Linked DNA regions of Homo sapiens: regions 1 and 2 are each linked to region 3. The links are contacts of gene promoters, found by promoter capture Hi-C in blood cells and fetal thymus (Javierre and others, 2016). All regions are on one chromosome and are shown on one strand. The core of a region is centred on a gene start or on the middle of the fragment in contact, and the rest is flanking DNA. Distances in the headings are between cores, read along the strand shown. Region 1 overlaps LOC124900682 (a long non-coding RNA gene). Region 2 overlaps DHX15 (DEAH-box helicase 15). Region 3 holds the start of RAB28 (RAB28, member RAS oncogene family).

The links. The method cuts DNA at HindIII sites, captures the fragments that hold promoters and counts their contacts. A CHiCAGO score of 5 or more calls a contact.
Region 1: a contact is called between a fragment that was not itself captured here and the fragment with the promoter of RAB28 in region 3, in 3 of 17 cell types (non-activated CD4 T cells, total CD4 T cells and activated CD4 T cells). The highest score is 8.3, in non-activated CD4 T cells.
Region 2: a fragment that was not itself captured here is called in contact with the fragment with the promoter of RAB28 in region 3 in 2 of 17 cell types (total CD4 T cells and non-activated CD4 T cells); the score reaches 7.5 in total CD4 T cells.

The regions. Positions count from the first base shown.
Region 1 is chr4:24,588,136-24,591,315 of GRCh38, reverse strand. It overlaps LOC124900682 (a long non-coding RNA gene), which reads left to right. Exons shown (of 2, transcript XR_007058078.1): 2 at 1,911-2,729. Among named protein-coding and RNA genes, the nearest start is that of DHX15, 5.2 kb to the right of the region's middle. The HindIII fragment of the contact is 1,128 bases long and covers 937-2,064 here.
Region 2 is chr4:24,572,087-24,575,477 of GRCh38, reverse strand. All of the region lies in intron 2 of DHX15 (DEAH-box helicase 15), which reads left to right. Among named protein-coding and RNA genes, the nearest start is that of DHX15, 11 kb to the left of the region's middle. The HindIII fragment of the contact is 3,537 bases long and covers 265-3,391 here.
Region 3 is chr4:13,482,960-13,485,969 of GRCh38, reverse strand. It overlaps RAB28 (RAB28, member RAS oncogene family), which reads left to right and starts at 1,630. Exons shown (of 7, transcript NM_001017979.3): 1 at 1,630-1,894. The coding sequence starts at 1,820. It overlaps LOC105374495 (a long non-coding RNA gene), which reads right to left and starts at 1,521. Exons shown (of 3, transcript XR_925413.1): 1 at 1,016-1,521. RefSeq lists silencers at 1,169-1,228, 1,191-1,485, 1,479-2,098 and enhancers at 1,369-1,488, 748-1,655, 1,451-1,745. The HindIII fragment of the contact is 2,971 bases long and covers 1-2,395 here.

The DNA.
Region 1 (3,180 bases), core at 251-2,750, about 11 Mb before region 3:
CTTTGGAAGTTTCCACTTAATTTTCTGCTACTATTATGTTTAAGTCCTGGAACTGCCTTTCAGTTTTCTCTGCCTTTCCACTGCAAGAAATGAAAACCTTTTTATATGCTCCCTCATAGGATTTCTGGTTTTCATGCTTAGTTTTGAATTGCAGATAAATAACTTCCAGCCTTTCATTATCTCTCCCCAAAATATTAATTCTACTTAGCAATAGCCATCAAATTCTAGGGAGCTTATAGTTACCAGTTCCCCCATATGTGAGAACTGCATGCCTTTTGCAGTACACCACATGCTTTTTTCCCAGTAAGCTACAGGTGAAAGTTTTAACAATTGCCCTGCTTCCTTGTGTCCTACCTCCACCACAGATTCATTGCCAGCCAGCAATGGGTGACCAACTCCAAAATCCAATCATAATGTCTGCTTTCTTTCTGGCACCACTTCTGGCACCAAATCTTTTAGGTCGGCTTCCATGAAAACTAGACTCTGAGGCAAAGATTAGCATTTAGAATGTTTATTAAGAAGTACATTTAGGATCAATATCAGTGGAAAGAAAAGATAAAAGTAGAATCAGATAAGGAAAAGTTGACTGTGATGCTGTTGCATGACAATGAATTTGACTGGCCTTTATCCCTGGTTCACGGGATTGGTTCATTTTAAATCCTTGGGGTCTCCCAAGTCATAAGAGTATCTTTGTTGCTCTCTTTAGTGAATATGCAGTGACTTCCTGGTTTGTGTATCCTGGTTTATATATTCCCTTTATTCTCTTTATGTATTCCCTTTATTCTCTTTAGGTTTATGTATTCCCTTTATTCCCTAAAGAGTTACTCTCTTTATGTTGGGCCCTTGGACGACATCTGAATTAGTGCTAAGGAGATAACTCAGGATGGGAACTGGTCATCCCAGAAAGACCAACCATGTGATTAAAGGGTTGAAGCTTTGAGCCACATGTTATCAGCCCAATCTCTTGACCTTTAAGCAGGGAAAGGAGGCTGGAAATTGAGTTGAATCATGGAGCCAATGATTCAGTCAATCAATCATGGCTACATAATGAAACCCCAATAAAAACTGCAGACACTGAAGCTCAGTGGAACATCCTAGTTTGTAAGGACATGGATGTGAGGGAGGGTCACATGTTCTAATTCCATGGGGAGAGGACACAGACGCTCTGATTTGTTTCCTTTATAATAAAACAGCAACCATAAGTATAGTGCTTTCCTGAGTTTTATAAGTTATTCTAGTAAATTATCAAATATGATGGAATTGTGAGAAACTCTGAATTTGTAGCCAGTTGGGCCGGAGTGCTGGTGGCCTGCAGACCCCTGAACTTATGGATGGTGTCTGGAGTGGGGACATCTTCAGTCTTGCTTGGGACTGTGGCCTTAACTTGTGGGATTGGAGGTAACTCTGGATTGTTACTGGCCAAATTGCATTGGGGTACATCAGATGCCATTATAACAAAGACTTCAGCTGATCCCACAGAGGGTTCAGATGCTCTGAAGCTCACAGTTGTCCTAAGTTGGTAGACAGGCCAAGCCTTTATACCTGTAGAATGTATTCAGGCTGCCCCTGGGCATGGCAGCTTTCTTTAGCCATGGAAGTTTCTGAAGAGGGCTGACACGAGGATCGTGTGCAGGTGGCAAGCACTCCCAGAGCTGAGGGATGTCTCATTATGAAAGTGAGATTTTGATGGCAAGCCATAGCACCACTATAGTTTGTAACTATTTCTGTCTCTTACTAGAGAGAGGATAAGGTGATTAAAAATAGTACTGAAAATTCTTTCAAATTTGTAAGCATTTTGTTGCTAAAGAGGATTCAAAGAGGGAGACTGGTGGATTGATCCTGGCAAATCCTCATGAGTGATCATGTTGTTTTCCCACTTAAATCTCATTTCTGTTTTCCTCTTGTTTTAGGAAGGATAAAGGCTTACCTCCTCAGCAGGACTCCTCAGATGGGGCATGATATGCCCTGTTCTTGCATCTGCAGGATCACAGATGACAAATTCCTCATCTCAACACATCCATGTTGTTTTCTCTGTCTGTGGGTCGCACCTGACTTTTTAAAGCTTCAGGGCCTTTGCACAGGCTGTTTCCTCTGCTTGGAATGCTTTCTGCCCTCTCTGCCTGGACAATTTGCATTCTTTTTTTTTTTTTTTTTGAGATGGAGTTTTGCTCCTGTTGCCCAGGCTGGAGGGCAATGATGTGACCTTGGCTCACCGCAACCTCCGCCTCCTGGGTTCAAGCAATTCTCCCACCTTAGCCTCCCGAGTAGCTGGGATTACAGGTATGCACCACTATGCCCGGCTAATTTTGTATTTTTAGTAGAGATGGGGTTTCTCCATGTTGGTCAGGCTGGTCTTGAACTCCTGACCTCAGGTGATCTGCCTGCCTTGGCCTCCCAAAGTGCTGGGATTGCATTTATTTTTAAGGTTTTTGTCTAAATGTTTCTTTCTCAGAGAGGCATTCCCTAACCCTCAATGTAGATCAAGGCCACTTGTTATATGCTCTCACAATGCCTGTCGTCTGTAGCTGGCCTTTTCAGCACTTATCATCGTGATAACAACATAGTTATTTATGTGTTTAGCTGTTCAGTGCCTGTCTCTCTCCCTCTGCCACGTTTTATGAAGGCAAGAACTATGGCTATTTTCTTCTTTCCTCTTTCCCCAGCACTTAATGCCTGACATGGGAGCTTAATACATATTTGTTGATTGAATAAATAAATGGTAATAGTGATACTGTACAATGGTCAATAGTGCGGCTCTAGAGTTGGACTGGGTTCAAATAATCCAAATCCCCACTTGTCCACTGAGAGTTCTGTAAACTAGTTCTCTACATGGACAATGCAGAAGTTTTATCAGTTCATGTTCATCTTGTCAGACTGGGAGAACTTATCTTCAGTAACCACACCTTAGACGAATAAAGTGGAACGAGAATATCTATTTATCAGCCGCAGCAGAACATAGCAATTAAGCACACACACTGTCTGGGCTGAATCTCAGAACTGTCATCTTGGCCAAAATACTTGCCTCTTTGAGTAACAGTTTCCTCAGCTGTAAATAAGAGTAATTCATTGGACTAAACTTGAAGTTGCTGTAAGTCTCAAATAGGCTCAAATGTGTAAGGAACAGCATCTGGCTCATAGTGCTTTGTATGTGTTTGCTATTAGCAATTATTTTTTATTAAT
Region 2 (3,391 bases), core at 784-3,283, about 11 Mb before region 3:
TTTTAATTTGCATTTTCTTGCTGTGGGTGAGAAGTAACTGTCTTTATACACTTAAGCCTGAACCATCAATTAAAAATTTCTGGTTTCAAAAGTAGCAGTCCCTGATCATTGTAGAAACTTTGAAAAATTCAGGAAAGTATTGAAGTGAATTACCTGTCTTACCATGCAGAGATTGAACATACCGCATACACAATTTATCTTTTTCTAAAGTTACATGTGCATGGAGACATTTTGAAGGTACTGTAGCAACCAAAATAGGAAGCTTTTATTATAGACTGAGCCTTAGTACCATTCTTCTTTTCTTTTCTTTTTTTTTTTTTTAATTTTTGTGTTGTTGTTGAGACAGTCTTTCACCCATGCTGGAGTGCAGTGGTATGAACACAGCGTCAACCTCCTGAGCTGAAGCGATCCTCCTGCCTCAGCCTCCCAAGTAGCTGGGATCACAGGCATATGCCACCAGTGCCTGGCTAATTTTTAAATAAAATTTTTGTAGAGTTGAGGTTTTGAACTCCTGAGCTAAAGCAATCCTCCTGCCTTAGCCTTGCCAATTTTTCTTTTTTAATGAAGGAAAACTTAGAATTGATGTTAGGGTATTCAAAAATCACCTTACGGAAATTTTAAGAATTTTCAAACTACAAGAAAGACTGTAACTCTGAACTTACTATTTAATTGATATTTGGGTAAAGCCAGACACTGTATACTTTACATGTATTAGCTCATTTACGTTTTTCTATAACCCTGCAGGAAGATATTCATCACCACTTTACAGATGAGCAAAATGAGGTTTAAGTTTATGAGAAACTTAGGTTTAGTGGATTGTCCTGGGTTACATGGATTATGGATTTTGGTGGGCTCAATATTTAAAACTTTGTACCTTTTGTCTTTATATCTAAAGTTTTATATTTCATACTGCTATTCTGTGGTCTGATTATGGGTAGCCTCATTTCAGAGATGAGTTTATTAATGGTTAGTGTAGAAGGAGGTCAGGTCAACTCAAGATGAGGTTTGTGATTATTTGGATTAATATTTAACTTTTAGAGGGGTAATTAAGATACTTGGATACTGAGGATTGCAGCACATCTGGGGGATTTGAAGGGAAACCAAACAGTTTAAAAAGTGAATTTCATTCAAATGTTTCCTAGCATGCTCTTATTAAACTTTGACTCAAACCATTAAAGCCAGTCTTTTTTTGGTGATTTGTTCTTGTCAGAAAAATTCTCTAAACAAAATCTAAAGTAATGACTTTAACTTTTTTTTTTTTTTTTTTTTTTTGAGACAAAGTCTCGCTCTGTCACCCAAGCTGGAGTGCAGTGGTATGATCTTGGCTTTCTGCAACCTCCTCCTCCTGGGTTCAAGTGATTCTCCTGCCTCAGCCTCCTGAGTAGCTGGGACTACAAGCGCGCACCACCATGCCTGGCTATTTTTTTTTTTTTTTTGTATTTTTAATAGAGACAGGGTTTCACCCTGTTGGCCAGGCTGGTCTCTAAATCCTGACCTCAAGTTATTGGCCTGTCTGGGCCTCCCAAAGTGCTGGGATTACAGGCCCAAGCCACTGCACCGGGCCATGACTTTAGCTTTTGACAGACCTACAATAAAGACATTTCACATTGCTGCTTAGTAGACACATAACTGCACATGAGGAAGGAATTGAAGCTAGGTCAACCAAAGGGACAGTGTGAGCAAGGACGCATGTTGAGCTAAGGGAATGCAGGTATGCTCTGGCTAGAATACAGAGGGTTTGGGAAGGTGGAGGTGGGGCAGGTGAGACTGGAACTGTAAGTTGAGCCTTAATATATCTTGTATAGACTGGAAGCCATCAGAGCTCTTGAATTGAAGAGGAATGATGAGGATTTTTTTTTAAAAAAACTCCTGTCTAGTGAACATATTGATGATACACCATGTAAGAGCTCATAACAAAAGTTTCGATTCTGTGAAGGGCCTTGGGAATAGAAAATAAAGAATGGATTGGAGTCAGGATATTAGGAATTACAAGTATTTTGGAGGAAGGTGAGAAATGGCTTTGCTTTTGAATGTGTGAATTTGGGATACCAACTAGGTGGAAATGACCGTTAGCTCTAAGATGAAAGCTGGAGTTAGGATTGGCATTGATGTATTATAGGTAGTATTAGAAGTTAGAACATATAAGACTTCACAGGATATTATGTAAAACAAGAAGACTAGAACACCGAGGATCAGTTTTAAGATGCCCTCAAGTGGAGGAAGCAAAGAGCTGAAAAGGAGGAATGGCTTTAGAATAACTTAGACCTGGCTGGGTACAGTGGCCCATGCCTGTAATCCTGGCACTTTGGGATGCTGAGGCGGGCAGATTACCTGAGGTCAGGGGTTTGAGACCAGCCTGGCCAATATGGTGAAACCCCATCTCTACTAAAAATACAGAAATCAGCTGGGCGTGGTGGCGCACACCTGTAATCCCAGCTACTTGGGAGGCTGAGGCAGGAGAATCACTTGAACCCTGGAGGTGGAGGTTGCAGTAAGCCTAGATTGCGCCCCTGCACTCCAGCCTGGGCAACAGAGTGAAACTCCGTCTTAAAAGAAAAAAACAAAAAAGCCGGATCCCTGGCTTGAATACACCAGTAGCCTACATATTTCAGGACCTCTTTCTTTTCCTAATGCTGTTTTCCTTAGAAATGTGAACAGATGCATTAACTGACTGGTTCTCCAGCTATTGCCTGGGAGTTCTTGAAAGTCCTTGAAACCATTTCAGGGATCCTAGAATTTGTAAAAATACAAGGAAACGCACTCTTCTAGCTAAGTTTTTTTGTTTGAAAAGTAGTCATTTTTATAGAAAGCGTTATTTTGTGTTAAAACAGAATGAGTTTTATTGTTAGGAATTAATATTTTAGCAATTTTTCAGTTTTAATTTCTTAACAGTAAATTTATTAGTAGCTTGGCATCCTCGGTCATTTTCAGAGTGAGTGCACAGGGGTCCTGAGAGCTGCTAATTGACTTGTTGGTCTTGTTTTTAAAGTGGAGGTAAGCTGTTGATTTTAGCGGAGTGAATTAAAAAATCTGAACATTCTTGGCCAGGCATGGTGGCTCACGCCTATAATCCCAGCACTTTGGAAGGCTGAGGCGGGTGCATCACCTGAGGTCAGGAGTTCGACACCAGCTTGCCCAACGTGGTGAAACCCTGTCTCTACTAAAAATACAAAAAATTAGCCAGGCGTGGTGGCACGTGCCTGTAGTCCCAGCTACTTGGGAGGCTGAAGTAGGAGAATCGCTTGAACCTTGGTGGTTACAGTGAGCCAAGATTATGCCACTGCACTCCAGCCTGGTCAACAGAGTGAGATTCCATCTCAAAAAACAAACAAAAAAACAAAAGATCTGAACATTCTTGCCTTGAGAATTTTGAATTAATTTTAAATATCTT
Region 3 (3,010 bases), core at 381-2,880:
TAATACTTAACTGGGTACCTATAATTGTGGGCCAGCCCTCTCTGCAGATGAAGAGACTGAGGCTCTACATAAGAAACTTGTATAAGGTAAATTGGCTAGAAAGTAGTGACACTTCCAACACGGACCATCATCTAATTATGATGATGATGAGGGTGATAGTTACACTGGTTAATATTGAGTGCTTACTACACACCAGGCATTGTGCTATCTACTTTATGCCGATTATTTCATTTAATTTTCAAACCTACACAAAGGCAGTAGTCTGTTCTACAGGTGAACTAACTGAGGCTCGAGGACACATATCTAGTAAACATGAGATTAAACTCCAGTGATGCCTCTAGGTCTGGGCATTTCTTTACACTGTTCTGCTTTCCTGTTCTAATGCCCATATGGTCTCCAAGACTACTGCCTCTGGGCTAAGCATTTTGTTAACTTAAGATACTTCATCTGCAAAATGGGGATAATTATACTTCATAATTCCTAATAGTAGTAAAGGTAACAATAAATTTTAAGTGATTAACAATGAAACAACCATAGCAGGACAGCATTATTATTTTTGAATTTACCTCACTAAATTGTAAATTTCATTTATGCCGTTTACCTAACGCTCCTGGACTGAGATTATCCAGGGCAGCAGTTCTTAAATTTTTTGGACTCAGGGCCTCTCTATAATGTTAAAGAATTACTGTGACCTCCAAAGAGCTTATGTTTATGTGGGTTACACCTATCACTACTGCATTGAAATGAAAACTGAGAAATGTTTAAAAACAACAAACGCAAGCTCCCTTAGCTGCCAGTGATGACGTCGTACACAAAGCGTATCCTCCAGGAAACGGTATACTAGTGAGAGAAGGAACGTGAGAAAGACAGACAAGGTGTCCGTATTATTATGAAAATTGTTCTGAGGTCATCGGGATTTCCAGAGGTCCCTAGACCACACTTTATGAGAACTGCTGCCTTAGGGTAAAGATGGGGTGCCAGGAGGTTGGCGATCAGTAGCGTCTGATGAACGAACCATGGGAGCCTGGGGTTGTTCAGATGAGGAAACCAAGAGTTAGGCCGAAATAAGCAGCGCCGGAGCTCCACTGTATTCACGGCCGCTACTGAGGCTTCCCAGCAGCCTCGGCCCTTAGCAGCTGTCCCCTCATCCGCCCCGAGGTACCCTCTTCCCTGGTCCGGTTTTTCAGGGGCCCTCTCTGGCGCTCTCCGCCAGGCTACGGGCGTCCCGGGTGCCCGGAGACAGGCCCCGCCCCGCCGCCGGTCCTCGAACTCCTGGCTGCCAGGCAACCCTGGCGCGTAGCCCGGGCGTCACTGCTCCACCCCGTCAGGCTGAACCATTCCCTTCAGAGACTTTCTCAAGAGGGAAGGAGAAAAGGGAATTTGATGGAACGCCTGAAAGCTGCTCTGCTCCCGTTTTCTCTCCTTAATTTGAACGAACACTTCTTTTCTTCTTCTAGCCAACTGTCTCCTGAAGGGAAACGCAGCGCCTCGCCTCTCCCGCCGGAATGTCCCCCACACCAGTCCAGGGCCGCGAGTGGTTCGGCTCGTCAGGCGGGGCCGCCGGTCGGCGCGGGTTGGCTCTGAGGCGGGGGCGCGCGCCCGACGTGCGCGTAGGGGGCGGGGCCGCGCGCAGAGGGCGGGGAGGTGGGCAAGATGGCGCTTGCCGAGTGATTCTCCTCGAATACCTCCTGCCGGCGCGGAGACACCGGGGCGGGGGTCCTGCCGCAACTACCTCCCTTCCTCCTCTCCCCCGCCCCCGGAGCCTTCATCCTTCCCTTCCCCCCCCACCTCGAGGGGCGGGCCTGGTTCCCGGGACACCATGTCGGACTCTGAGGAGGAGAGCCAGGACCGGCAACTGAAAATCGTCGTGCTGGGGGACGGCGCCTCCGGGAAGGTCAGTCCTCGAGCAGGCCCGCCGTCCCAGGCCTGCAGGAACCCCGGCGGTCCCCGGCCTCCTCCCCGCCGCCCGGCGTCGCCTCGTTACCCCGAGCCCTCGGGCTTCTAGGCCCGGGCCCTTCTGGTTGTGTGGCCTGAGGCCGGACACGAAGTGGGCGCTTGGTGAAGGCCGACGAGAGCTGTCCAGCTCCCCCTTAAAAAAGAGTCACTTCCTAACTCCCCGCCTGGATTGCGAACTCCTGCAAGACTCGGGCCAGCCTTTCAGCTTCCCGCCTCTCAGGACTGGCAGGGATTTGCCAAGGCATCTTAGCTCCTCTTACTTGTAGTCTGGGTCACACTTACTCCTCCCCTCCCACCCCCTTTACCGTTTCTGATGCTTCTACTGCATCGTGAGCTCCCAGGAGCGTAGCTCTGGAATCAGTATTCCCCGGGTGAGAATTGGGGCTCTGCCACTTAGTCGTCGGGTCATTGGAGGGCAAATTGCTAATCAGTTTAAGCTTCATCTGTAAGATGGGTATTGAAAAGGGCCGCCGCAAAGGGAGAAATGTGAAAATACATATTAAATGTGAAAATACACATAAAACCTTTAGAGCACAGTGTCCACTCAGTACACTCTAGTTGCTATTTTAATATCATACCTGTTCATCACCTCTGTTTCCAGCTCAGCACTCGATACAAGCAGTCAGTCAACAAGTGTTTATGGAGCTCCTGTTACGGGTAGGATGCTGAGGGTAGAGCTGCTTGCGTGACAAAAGGGATCCCCTGTTCGAATGAATGAATGCGGGCGTGAGAATATCAGGCAGCGTCAGTCTTATTATCTCCTAGGCAGGGGCTCCTACCCCAAGGCTGTGGAACTCCTGAAATGGAGTAAATACTGCCCGGTACGTGCTCTGGGGAGAGGGTCCATAAGATCTCAGAGGGGTCTATGATCCCTCCACCAGCAAATAGTGAAGAGCCTCTACCCGGATGCCTTCTTTCCCATGCTTCTGTCAAAGGCGCCAACACTTTCTGGGAATATTGCTAAAGTTTATCACCCCTGTACTCCCCTTCCTTATCCCAACCATAGTCTAAAGAAACCCAGGCTTTTATTTCCTGTTTAAGGCTTCACATTTCC